Regions from separate parts of the Homo sapiens genome. Here region 2 is linked to region 1. Evidence: promoter capture Hi-C in 16 types of primary human blood cells and fetal thymus (Javierre and others, 2016). All regions are on one chromosome and are shown on one strand. Each heading gives the region's core, a stretch centred on a gene start or on the middle of the fragment in contact. The rest is flanking DNA. Distances are from core to core; before and after follow the strand shown. Region 1 holds the start of KCNB1 (potassium voltage-gated channel subfamily B member 1). Region 2 overlaps LOC105372649 (a long non-coding RNA gene).

What was found. The method cuts DNA at HindIII sites, captures the fragments that hold promoters and counts their contacts. A CHiCAGO score of 5 or more calls a contact.
Region 2: a fragment that was not itself captured here is called in contact with the fragment with the promoter of KCNB1 in region 1 in 6 of 17 cell types (M2 macrophages, endothelial precursors, M1 macrophages and 3 more); the score reaches 12.4 in M2 macrophages.

The regions. Positions count from the first base shown.
Region 1 is chr20:49,477,822-49,484,013 of GRCh38, forward strand. KCNB1 (potassium voltage-gated channel subfamily B member 1) reads right to left here and starts at 4,847. Exons shown (of 2, transcript NM_004975.4): 1 at 4,093-4,847. The coding sequence starts at 4,659. The HindIII fragment of the contact is 15,223 bases long and covers 1-6,192 here.
Region 2 is chr20:49,346,911-49,353,102 of GRCh38, forward strand. All of the region lies in intron 2 of LOC105372649 (a long non-coding RNA gene), which reads left to right. Among named protein-coding and RNA genes, the nearest start is that of SNORD12, 69 kb to the left of the region's middle. The HindIII fragment of the contact is 8,591 bases long and covers 1-6,192 here.

The DNA.
Region 1 (6,192 bases), core at 3,597-6,096:
TTAAACATCACTGAATGTACGTCTGAGGGCTGGAACTGGGCAGCCATCTTGTGATATGAAGCATCAAGCATGAGGACCAAGCCACTTGCAGGGGTTGGGGAGCAGAGGAGCAGAGAGATGAAAAGAATCTAGAATCCTGGTGGCATCATTGAGCCATTAACTCAACCTAAAACCAACTGCCTTGGAACTTCATATTATATTCAATGATGCATCTTCCTCCTTATTGAAGCTACTTTGAGTTTTCTATTCTGCTGCTTGCAGCCCAAAGCATCCCTAACTGGCATACTACCTGGTTGTATCCCTGTTGGAGGAATTTCAATGAGATAGCAGATATGAAGCACCACTAATCAGTGCTGGGCACAACAAACATAAGCTACCCTGGAAATTAGGAAGTTATCTCAGGGCTTTAATCCTGAGACTATCCCAGGGATCACAGACACTCCTGGGCTGGCAAATCAGTTCCCTGTCTCTCCTACTGAGAAAAGCCTGTCGAGTTTTCCGAGAAAGCCAAAGCCCCGTGGTAGCCCCAGCACCGCAACCCTGTCACACCAATGGGGCTGTCCCCATCTTCTAAACAAGAATCAATCACACTGCCTTTTGCCTAATGGGTTTTGATTTTCGCTCCCCTGATGGCAAAGCCTAGGGCCTGTGCTTTGGTTTGTCTCCGAGTTGCCAGAACATCCCATCAATTATTAACAGTGTCAGCTCAGTCTCCCTGGCCCTGCTGCTCTCAGAAGGAAAGGGTTTGCAGCAACTCGGCCCACCCAGCCCTAGAAAAAAGACTCTTTTCCTTAGCATTTATAACAACAATCCCCACCTGCTATGTGCTAGGCTTTGAGCAAAATTTTGACAAATGTGATTTAATGAAGACCCTGTAAGGTGAGCCTTTTATCTCCATTTTACAGGTGGAAGGTTGGGACTTGGAAAGTTGGAGAAATTAGCTAAAAGCTATGGAAGTGGGGAGTGGCACAGAACCAGATCCATCCTTGCTCTTCAGCATATGAGATATGGCCACTTTTGTATCTTACAATCACCTAGAAATGATCCTCCATTTGGTCCTGTCACTCTGTGAGTTCTAAGCAATTTCCACAGGCTTTGCTTGTTTTGACAAGCAAGGCATCCAAGCTGGGGGGATGGGTGGGGATGGGATGGGCAAGGTGCAGATGACTCAAAGGAGGCCAGAGGCACAGGGACCTGGGTTGCAGGTGGGCAGTGAGAAGGGGTGACAGGTCCCCAAACCCTGAGACACAGTGACTGACTGCTTGCTTGCTTGCTTGATTCATTCATTCGTTCATTCATTCATTCGTTCATTCATTCATTTATTCATTCCACATGCTCCTCAGTGCCAGGCACCATCATGGGTGCTGGGAATCAAGCAGTGAATCAACTCATGGTACTCACATTCTTGTGGGTGTGAAACAGAGACACACAAAGAAGGAAATATAATTTCAGATGGCGTTTAAGGCCTCTGCAGGAAAGGCATTGCATGATGCAACAGAGAGTGAGGGGAGGGAAACTGTTTAGAACAGCGGTCAAGGAAGGTCTGTATGAGGAGGGGACATGTGAGCAGGGACCTGCTCAAATGAGGAAGGGGGAGAAGGGGCTGGCCAAGGGGGAATCTGGGGAAGAGCATTCCAGGCAGCGGAAACAGCAAGTGCAAGGGTCCTGAGGTCAGATAAACTCTGGCCTGTTTATGGAACAGCAAGGCCAGTGGGGCTGGAGCCAAGTGAACCAGAGGAGATCAAAAGAGATGAGCCCAGAGAGGTCATGGGGGCCAGATTCTGCCTGGGCCTTGTATGCCAGGATGAAAAGTCTGAATTTTATTTTGAGTGTGATGGGAAACTTCTGGAGGATTTTAAGCAGATGAATAATGTGATCCAATTTACATTTTGAAAAGCTCACTTTGGCTGCTATGTGGGGAATGGATTGCAGGGGCAAAAGTGGAAGCCGGGAGACTGGGGAGGAGGCTGCGGCACTTGATCATTATAGAAAGAACACTCGGTTTGGATTTCTGGCTACTCCTGACTGCCTGTGGTGTGACCTTAGGCAAGTTACTTAACCTCTTTCAGCCTCACTGTTTGCGAAAGGTGGGATAATAACAGAGCTGCGTTGTTACACTCCATACACAGTAGGTGTTTGATCATTGGCAGCCAGGATTTCTATTCTGAGGGCCAGTGAGCCTGCCTCCCTCCCCATTTCAGCTCTGGCTACAGAAAATCCTAGATGGTCCATCTGCCAGGAATGTGAGCTGGCAGCCCCAGACTGGGATCATGGAGAGGTCACAAGGCTGTCCCTGCTAGCGGATTAACCCAAGGGAGAGGAGAGGTTCTTTATTCCCAAACAGCACCTCTTGCAAGCCCCGGTGCTTGGGTCTTGCTGCCAGACCAAAACATGGCCCTGTGCCTGCTTCTTCTCTGGGAGGGCAAATTGTCCAGTTCCCTGTACCTTGTTCTCATGTCTTAGGGATGGGACAGGGAGGGAGAGTCACATTTGGGCCTAAATGGGATGTGCAGTGGGAGAACCTGTGTCATGCCTGGAAATAGCAAAATAAGTCTGTTGATCCTAAGCTGATTAAGGGTGAGTGACTCTGTCTTAGGAGGAGGCTTTTTGGACACAAAATTGGGGGCGGGATTATGGAGAGAGACAGCCCACAGCCTCAGAGGAGGAAGCCAGGCCCAGGAGCCTCTACATCCTTGTTAGGGCCAACAGGGAAACGAAAAAAACACGTGGGGGCTCCCTCCACCCTCTTACCAGCCACCCCTTCTCCATCCACTCTCAGGGGCCTCTCCTTGGGTGGCTAGATCTGGAGGAAGGACCCCACGGAGTCTCCCTTCAGACTGGGACCTGCAGGTGGGCCTTCAGTGAGAACTGAGCCGGAGACCCCACAATGAAAGGCTGGGCTGGACAGGAGTCAGCCCTAGCTAGTAAGATATGGCTGGATATTTAGGCTTCCTCCTCTCCTCTTTCTTTTACCACAAATCTACTTACCTGACCCCTTTTTTTAGGCCCCACACTCAGTTACATTCTCCCCATGTTTCCCAAGTTGGTCTTGCTGGATTTCAACATCAACATCTCTCTTTTCTGGGTTCTCCGTGAACCTCACAGAACCTCTTTTATAGCCTTGCACACACTGTTTTGTCATTTGCTCCCAGCACCCAGCACTTCGGGCACATGAAGACAGGCCCCATCTTTCCCAGGCAACCCCAAATCCCAGCCTGACGTAGAGAAGTTGCTGATCAACCAGTGCCCTCCTGCCCTGCCTTGGCTCCCACCCCAAGCCTTCCTCAGTCCCCTACAGCCCCTGCCATTACCCAGCAGCACCAAAGACTCTCTGGCCCACTCTTTGTGTTCAAACTCATTCCTGCCTCCTCCTCCTCCTCCTCCTTTATTTTTCACATTGCCTCATTTTTCTCTCCTATTTTGAAATTTACATCTTGTTCCAAGAGCTGAAACATCTTTACAAGCTGCACCAAACCATTCTGGAAATAAACTCACCAAATAAATAAGTAACCAGGGGGTGACCCCTCACCCGCAAGCATCCACAACCAACTGCATGTGTCGTGTGGGTCCACACCCACCCCTCGGGGTCCCTTCTTACTTATGTTTAAACTATCTGACAGTATCTCAATGTCCTGTAAGCATGTCTGTAAGCTGCTTTTTTCCCTTGCTGGGGCAGAGTGAGGTTATAAATATGGAGATATTAAAATCACAGGGTGATCCAATCCAGCCTAGGTCTGGGACTTCACAGGGAAGCAAACCCTACTCCACCCCAGCAAGCCACTGTTGTCTCTCTGTGCTCTCTCTCTTATTCGTCAGTGTCCATCTTCTTGCTGTGGCTTTTTATGGGTCCCTGTGAAACCTCTCCAACCAAGTAGGGGTATAACGTCTTGGATAATAAAAAGATGGAGTGACCAGTGCCACATGGGAAAAGTCTGAGGGGGTTGGTCCTCACCTCTGGGGACTCAGTCCTAGCCCCTCCCCATTACTAATCTTCATCGTTGGGAACAAAGCCAGAGTCCTCCAGCAGTGGTCCTCAATATGGGGATGCAAGCAGATCCCCCCAGACCAGCAGCCCCCAGATCCCAGACTCACCTTGGCAGCCACAGAGGAATTGGGCTTCTCCAGTAGGTCCCAGAGTTTTTTCCTCTTCTCTGCGCAGCACGTGTTATCGAACTCCTCGCCTTCCCGCTCCCGTAGGGTCTCGGCCTCACGCTTGAGCTCCTCGTTCATCTGCTCTTTCTTCTGGTGGTAGCGGGCCTGGCAGCAGGACTCCAGGTAGATCTCGTCGATGCCCCAGTAGTCGAGCTCTTGGCTGAAGCTGAGCGCGCACATCTCCTCCATCATGTGCAGTCGCCCAGTGCGGTAGAAGTTGAGGATGGAGGTGAAGGCGCCCGGGTGGCGGTCAAAGAAGTACTCGTTGTCGTCGAGGCTGTAGTCATCGCACACCTCGAGCAGCGAGTCGTGCGTGTTGCAGTCGCGGAGCTTGCCCAGCCGCGTGCGGGGCAGGCGGTCCAGGGTACGCCAGAGTACCTCGTGCGCCAGCCCCCCGACGTTGAGGCGGACCCGCCGAGAGCACGCCTTGCTGCGCACGATCTCCATGGGCTCGGGCGGCAGCGAGCTGGTGGAGCGGGAGCCATGCTTCGTCATGCCCGCCGGCATCGCTGATCCGGCCGCCCCCGCCCCCCCTGCCCCCCCAGGCCGCTGTCACTCGACGGCAAGGCCCGCTGCTGCGGGGGAGGGGGGCAGGGAGCGCTGTGGGCTGCTGGGGGTGCAGGGGGCCCCGCGGGCGCGCGTCACGGCCGTCTTCTCACCTCCATCCCGACGGCTGCGAGGCAGAAAGCGAAAGCGGACGCGGGTCAGCAAACGGGGAGCTGGGCATGCTGTCCCCCCGCCCCCCACCTCTCCACCAGGCTCCCAGCCGGCCTTGACCTTCCCCCGCGCTTAAGCGGCTCAGTGGGGTAGGACGGATGGTCGCTGTCCCTCCCGCCGGTGCTGAAGTCCGCCGCACCCCATGGATGGAGGGAGGGGCCGCCCCTCGGGGCGGGGAGAGGGCCCCAAGAGATGCCCCTGGAGCCCGGGAGGCCCCACCCTGGGCTTCTGCGGCCCAGGCGCGACCCAGCCGCCCGGGGCGCTGTCCGCCCCTTAGAGTGCTGAAACTCTCTTCATTATGGGTCTCCCGATCGAGTCCCGAACCTGGCCCCGCCATGGGGAGAGAGGGGGAGCTGCATGAAAACTTTCTTTCTTTATCTTTTTCTTTCTTTCTTCTTCTTCTTTCCTTCTTTTTTTTTTTTTTAACGAGTTCTCTTCTTTTCCTTCCCCTTCTCGAGATAATCAAGATTTTGGGGGTGGGGGAATGGCAGCGGGCTTTTTTCCAAATCTTAAAAGATTTGGGGGAATTCCGGGGGTTCCAGGTGCCCACCTGTCCGAGGTCACAACAGACGGGGTGTGCACAACAGCCCCTCTGTCCTGGAGCGACCCCTCTTCCCAAACACTGGAGCATCTCCTGAGATTGCTCCAGCGACAAGGTGAGCCGCGAGGAGGAAAAGCCCGCTCTCGCCTCTCCCTCTGAGCCCCCAACCCTACCGCAGGAGGGGCGGGCAGAGTCCTCGGGATCCGCCTGCTCCGTCCTCCCCTCGCTCCTTCCCCGCCCCCTTCTCCTCCTTCTCCTCCCCCTCCTCTTCCTTCTCCCCCTCCTCCTCCTCTTCCTCCTCCTCCTCCTCCTCCTCCTACTCCTCCTCCTCGTTCCTCTCCCGCGATGGCTTTTTATAACTCCGGGTTCTGCGCCTTTCCCCGGGCTTGGAAGGGAAGGGGTGGGGGAGGTGGGAGGCGGGGAAATGAGCTAAATTTTCTGGCCTTTTCAAAAGGTGCCATCCTCCTACCGCGCACTAGTGATTTCGGGGGGTTCCCCTGAGCACCCCCTGCATGTAGGGCTCACGCCTTAGCCCCAGAATGGGGATTGCGCGTCCCCTCAGGCCTCAGCCCTTGCCTGCCTCCCACCCCGCTCCCCTCCAGCCTGGAGCTGCGGAGCCCGAGCAGACCAACAGGCCGAGCTGCGGCAGGCAAACCCCCTGTCCGTGTCCCCATGCACCCCCACGGAAGGCCGTACGCCCCAACACTCACCCCCAGGGCGGCCGCCTCCTGGGGCCAGGGACCGCGCATCGTCCCGGCCGCCCGGGCGCCCCCGCCCGTGGG
Region 2 (6,192 bases), core at 1,774-4,273, 130 kb before region 1:
TCCCCACCACTCCTGGAGGCTTTGGACTGAGTCTCTTTGCTCATTTATAGAGCTTCCAGCATGGTAGCTGGGATCATGGGCTTTGCAGCCAGGTATGTGTTCAGCTTTTCTGTTAATCATCACAGTAACCTCTCTCTTAGGGTAGTAAGGATTAAACTAGTTAATATAGGCAAAGCATCTGGAATATGTTGCACTGTTATTGCTACTGTTCTGCTTTATCCTGGTGCAGAAGCTCAGACCCCCAGTCTGAGGGCTGCCCCTCCGGGAGCTGGAAGCTGCGCCTGTGGCAGCTGGCTATGAAAGCGTCTCTTTCTGCTGTCCCACACAGCAGCCGTTGTCAATGTCCACTTTCTCTCCCTCCACCTGCAGCACCAGAGTTCACACCTTGGGCCCGCCCTCCTAGCATTATTTTGAGAAAAGGGCCTTCTGTCCTGTAAATAGGCTGAGTCATCCCTGCCTCAGGGCCTTTGCACACGCTGCACTTGCTTCCTAGAATACTTCTTTTCCCATCGCTTTGCTTGGCCATCTTCTCCTTTTGGTCTAGCTCAAATGGTACTTCCTCAGGGAGGCTTTTCCTGATCGCCTAAGAAAAGTAGCCCTGTTTTCTTTCCCCTGTCATACACATTCGCCTATATTATTTTCTTCCCAGAACTGGTTTGTTGTGTATCTCCCAGAGGACCAGGTCTGCCTTGGTCACTGTGATATCCCTAGCACTTAGGCCATTGCCTGGCACATGGTAGATGTTTGATAATTATTTATTGAATGAATGAAGGAAGGAAGAAAAGAATTCATCAACTCCTCATGACCACCCTGTAAAGCAGGGACAAGAGACCTGAGTCATGGAGAAGAGAAGGGACTCCTCAAGGTCGCACAGCCCAGAAGGGGCAGAAAGGGTGATGAGGACCTAGGTTTTCTGCTTCTACACCCCCTGTCCCCTCAACCCCCCAGGTGGGAAGCAGCAGAGACATTTGGATCTTTGGCTCGACCAGCCACCAAGAACGGGTCAAGTGTGCAGCAAGGCCCAGAGCACAGCGTCTGAGGGTGGTGAGAGCGATTCACCCAGGCAGCCAGGAGGCGAGACTGTTTACAGGGGCTAGCGGCTGTCGCCATGACAACCGGACAGCCTACAGCTTCCTGCGTCACCAGGGACGCAGGTTTGCTCTTGGCTGGGAAGCAGTGGGGACAATGGAGTGGGGGCTGGGAAATGGGGGGACCCTAAACACTCAGTCTTGGGGGGAGGCAGTTCTCATTTCTGGTTTTTTTTTTTTTTTTGAGATGGAGTCTCGCTCTGTCGCCCAAGCTGGAGTGCAGTGGTGCGATCTCGACTCACTGCAACCTCTGCCTCCCGGGTTCAAGTGATTCTCCTGCCTCAGCCTCCTGAGTAGCTGGGATTACAGGCGTGTGCTACCATGCCCGGCTAATTTTTGTAGTTGTAGTAGAGATGGGGTTTCACCATGTTGCCCAGGCTGGTCTGGAACTCTTGACCTCAAGTGATCTGACTAACTCAGCCTCCCAAAGTGCTGGGATTACAGGTATTAGCCACCATGCCCGGCTGGGAGTTCTCATTTCTGAGAGTTGCTTGAAGGCTGGGAGGGCCTGGTGATGCTACCTAAGTGTGTGTGTGTGTGTGTGTGTGTGTGTGTGTGTGTGTGTGTGTGTAGTGTCTGGGCTGTGTGGAGCCAAGCTGCCTGGGTCTGAATCTCAGCTTTGCCTCTTCTGTGCCGTGGCATTTTGGGCAAGTGAGTTAATCTCTCGGTGCCTTAGTTCCCTCTAATGTAAAATAAGGTGGACAGTAGTACCTCATAGGACTGTTATGAGGATTAAATGAGATAATAGTCTCACGGCACTTACAATGCACCTTGCATTGTGCCTTAATTCTTGACATCAATCTACATCTGACTCTAGGTTGTCTTCTTGCTGGGGTAGTGGGAAATTTGGTCTCAATCATCCTCAGGGATCCCTACTTCCCTGGCTTTTGTCATTCATTCAACAAATACTTATTGAGCACCTACTGCATGCCACGTATTGTTCTAGAGGCTGAGACCACAGCAGTGAACAAAGCAAACAAAAATCCCTGGCAGAGTAGAGCTAACATTCTAGTAGGGATAGATAGACATTAAATATGACAAAAAGGAAAATAGATATTATATCAGATGACAATAAGAAGAAAAAGAAAGCAGGGCTGGAGGATTCCAACTGCAGGGGAGCTGTTGCAATTTTAGAAAAATTGATGCATGGGGATGTGAGTGTGTCAGGGAAGGCCTCACTGAGAGAGTAACCTTTGAGTACAACTTGAAGAAGGTAAAAGAGGGAGTCACAGGTTATTTGCAAGAGCATTCCAGGCAGAGGGAACAGTAAGCGCAAAGGCCCTGAGGCAGGAGCATGAGCATGTATGTGACTGTATCATGTAGTCATATCTCTTGGCAAGTCTGTGTGTGTGATGTTATGTGGCACACATTGGTGGCATATAGGTGGTTATGCCTGTCCACATGGGTGGCAATGCACATACATGTTTGTTCATGTACAGAGCTGCTGTGTTCAGTCACAGAGGCTGTGCCTGAACAATTCAGGGAGTGACATTCACACTGATTGCCATGAAATGGGACCCCCTGGTGTAGTGCAGCGCAGTGGCCCCGAGCATATATATAAGGAAATCAATGTAAAATGTCTGTGAAAATGTTCACACGTGTATGTGTCCGGATATTTAAATATAACGATATGCAAATATGTATATATGAATGTCTTTAAGATGTTGATATTTCATTCCTCATGGACTTTTGCTTCAGTATTGATTTTTAAAAAATATTGCATTAAGATATTATTTCTCTTGATTACTCAGTTTTTGGGTGCATCTTACATTTGCATCAGAGGCAAGTGCCTCACTCTCTTAATGCTGGTCCTCGCCCTGCCTTGGAGTTGGGCAATGAATGTGCGGGAGGCAGGGATGAGGCAAGGGAAGCCTCTCCTTCTGGCTCCTTCCAGCATCTGGGCTCATCAGCACATGACTAGAATCCAAACCTAATCTGAACACATTTTGTTCCTTTAAAACAAGATTTATTGAGTGCTGACTGTGCGCCAGGGACTCTGCATACATTATTTTATTTTATCCTTACCACCATCTCTGGGGGTAGATATTTGCTCATTCCATTGAACAGACATTTGCTTAGGGCCTACTATGTGCCAAGAGTATAAGCTGGCATTTGTGCTGGTCTGGCAGCCACTCCTGATTTTTCTGGTAAAAGCACCCCAGTTTTCCTTTAGGGAACCTAGCCTCTTCCCTTTACTGTCCAAGTGGTTTCACCTGGGCTTTCTGTACCCCTCCCTCAGACTCCAGGGGTGGGGGTGTGATCCAGGCGACCCAATCAGCATACTCCATCCCTTTTGCTCCAGAGATTAGTTATAGGACGAGTATCTAACCCAAGTTGGTTCAATCAGAGTGAATCCTGGGATTTTTGCTGCCCTGTTGGGAAAAAGAGCTCTCTTTTCATCAGGATTTCTAGCTGTGAGAATTCTGTAACCCTGGAATTCCCAGTGAGAGTCTACTACATGGAGAGAGAGAGAGAGAGGAAAAACTCATCCCTTATGACATCTTTAAAGCCCCTGGATCCAGCCACACCTGAAGTCAGTTACCCTAAGATTTTTCAATTCTGTGAGTTTATACTTGTTTTTCTTTTTAAAAGCCAGTTTGAGAGGGAAGCTGAAATCCTGTGCTTGGCATCTTTGTACATTATCTCCTTTAATTCAGAGATGAATCCCATGGGGAAGGGGCTCTGATTGTACAAGAACTGATCCTCAGGGAGGGAGGTGACTTATCCAAGGTCACAGCAGGTTGGTAGTTGGAGCTTGAATTCAAGCCCAGGTCTCTACTCCTGAGCCGTTCTGCCATTCCACATGGTCTGACCTCTGGACAAGAGGGTTTGTGTGAGTATTAGTGACATAGACCCGAGTCCTGTTATGGCCACTGTTTTGCTCTGTGACCTTGATCAAGTCATTTCTCTAATATGAGCCTCAGTTTCCCATCTGGAAAAATGGTAGTGCTTACCCCATCATGCTGTCGTGAGATGATCCATGAAAGTAAAGTACTCAGAACAGGGCTAGACATGCAGCAATGAACATAAACTATTATTACCATGGCTCTCTTTTTTTTTTTTTAGAAAATTTTTTTTTAAATTTCATAGGTTTTTGGGGAGTAGGTGGTATTTGGTTACATCTTTAGTGGTGATTTGTGAAATGTTGGTGCACCCATCACCCGAGTGGTATACACTTCACCAGAGCAGTATACACTGAACCCAATTTATAGCTTTCCATCCCTCACCCACTTCCCACCTTGCCCCGCAAGTTCCCAAAGTTCATTGTATCATTCTTATGCCTTTGCATCCTCATAGCTTAGCTCCCACTTATGAGTGAGAACATAATGTTGGTTTTCCATTCCTACCATGGCTCCCTCTTTGAGGGAAGAAAGGGGACCCAGGGGGCTCCCCGGCCACCCTGCTCCCATCCTCCCTGATGGCCACAGGCTCCCAGCAGCCCTTGATGGCACCTTCATCCATCTTCTGCCAGACACACAGAACTGGCTCGCTTACCCGGGAAGCAGGCACTTAAGGAGGCGCTTCCCCGCTTTCTCTTTTAATTTTCGTTACATAAATTTCACATTTCCTGGAATAGAGAGCTTGAATGTCTGGACTCATTTGGAAATCGAGTCAGCAAAGGGCCTCATTTATATTAATGGGGACTCGAGCCTGACTTGAGACGTGGCAGAGACAAGGATGGATGGCAGCAGCTCCTAGGCCCAGCCATCCAGGCTGAGCTCAGACACTGCCTTGAGAAGCAGATGCCTCCAGATTTAGGCTGGGACTGTTCTCGTTGTGTGGGGAGCTCCTGGATGCAAGGGCGGTGTTGTCACCCCTCCCCCACTGAAACTTCCCAATGGCTGCTCACTCTCTCAGAGGGAACTCCAGTCTGCTTATCCTGCTTGACAAGGGGCTGCGTGATGGACCCCTGCTAACCTCCCTGCTCCTGCCCACCACTCTCCTCCCTCATCCTTCTTCAGTCTGGCTGGCCTCCTGAGAGCATTCCTGCCTCAGGGCCTTTGCACTTGCCGTGCTCTCTGCCTGAAAGGTTGTTCTCCTAGCTCATCCCGTGGCTAGCTCCTTCCATGGCTTGTCTCACAGACAGCACCTCAGGGAGGCCTTCCTTGATTGCCCATCTGGAGAAACACTCTCCAGTTACTCTGTATCACACCCATTTCATTTTCTCCATCACACTGAGCAATAGTTTGTATTTTCTTGTTTACTTATTTGCCTATTTATTTATTGGCTGTCTTTCCCATGAGAGTATAAACCCCATTAGAGCACAGACTACGTGTCTCCTTCAGCTTTGTCCCCCTAGGATCTGGCTCAGAGAGACAGATTTCTTAAGCACCTTAATAAATATTTGTGGAATGAATGCCTGCACTCATTCAGCAAACCCTTTCTGAGTGCCTTCCTGGTGCCAGGCTCTATTCTGGGTGCTGGGAACACAGCTAAGAAAAAGACAAGAGGCAGGGCACGGTGGCTCACGCCTGTAATCGCAGCAATTTGGGAGGCCAAGGCGGGTGGATCACTTGAGGTCAGGAGTTTGAGACCAGCCTGGCCAACATGGTGAAACCCTGTCTCTACTAAGGATGGAAAAATTAGCCAGGTGTGGTGGCATGTGCCTGTAATCCCAGCTACTGAGGAGGCTGAGGCACAAGAATTGCTTGAACCTGGGAGGTGAAGGTTACAGTGAGCCGAGATCGTGCCACTGCACTCCAGCCTAGGCAACACAGTGAGACTCTGTCTCAATTAAAAAAAAAACAAAAACAAGACAAGATTGTTGGCTGCATGGAACTCGTGGTCTGGCGCAGAGAGGAAAACACCATAGTAACGAACATTTATTGAGTGTGACAAGGATTTTACAAAGAGACATCACATTTAATCCTAACTACAGCCCTTGGAACTATTATTTGTACCAGTTCATGAGGCACAGAGAGGTGAAATAGCTTGCTCAAGGCCATACAGTTAGAAAACAGAGGAGCCAAGATTGTGGCCAGGCCATCCGGCTCCCCACTCTGCTGGTTTAACAAGCTCACTGAAGCCACTGGGAGTTAAAGCCTTGTGCTGTGAAACCTGTGATGGGGGAGGCTCTGAAGGCTGTGGGAGCCCAGAAAAAGCA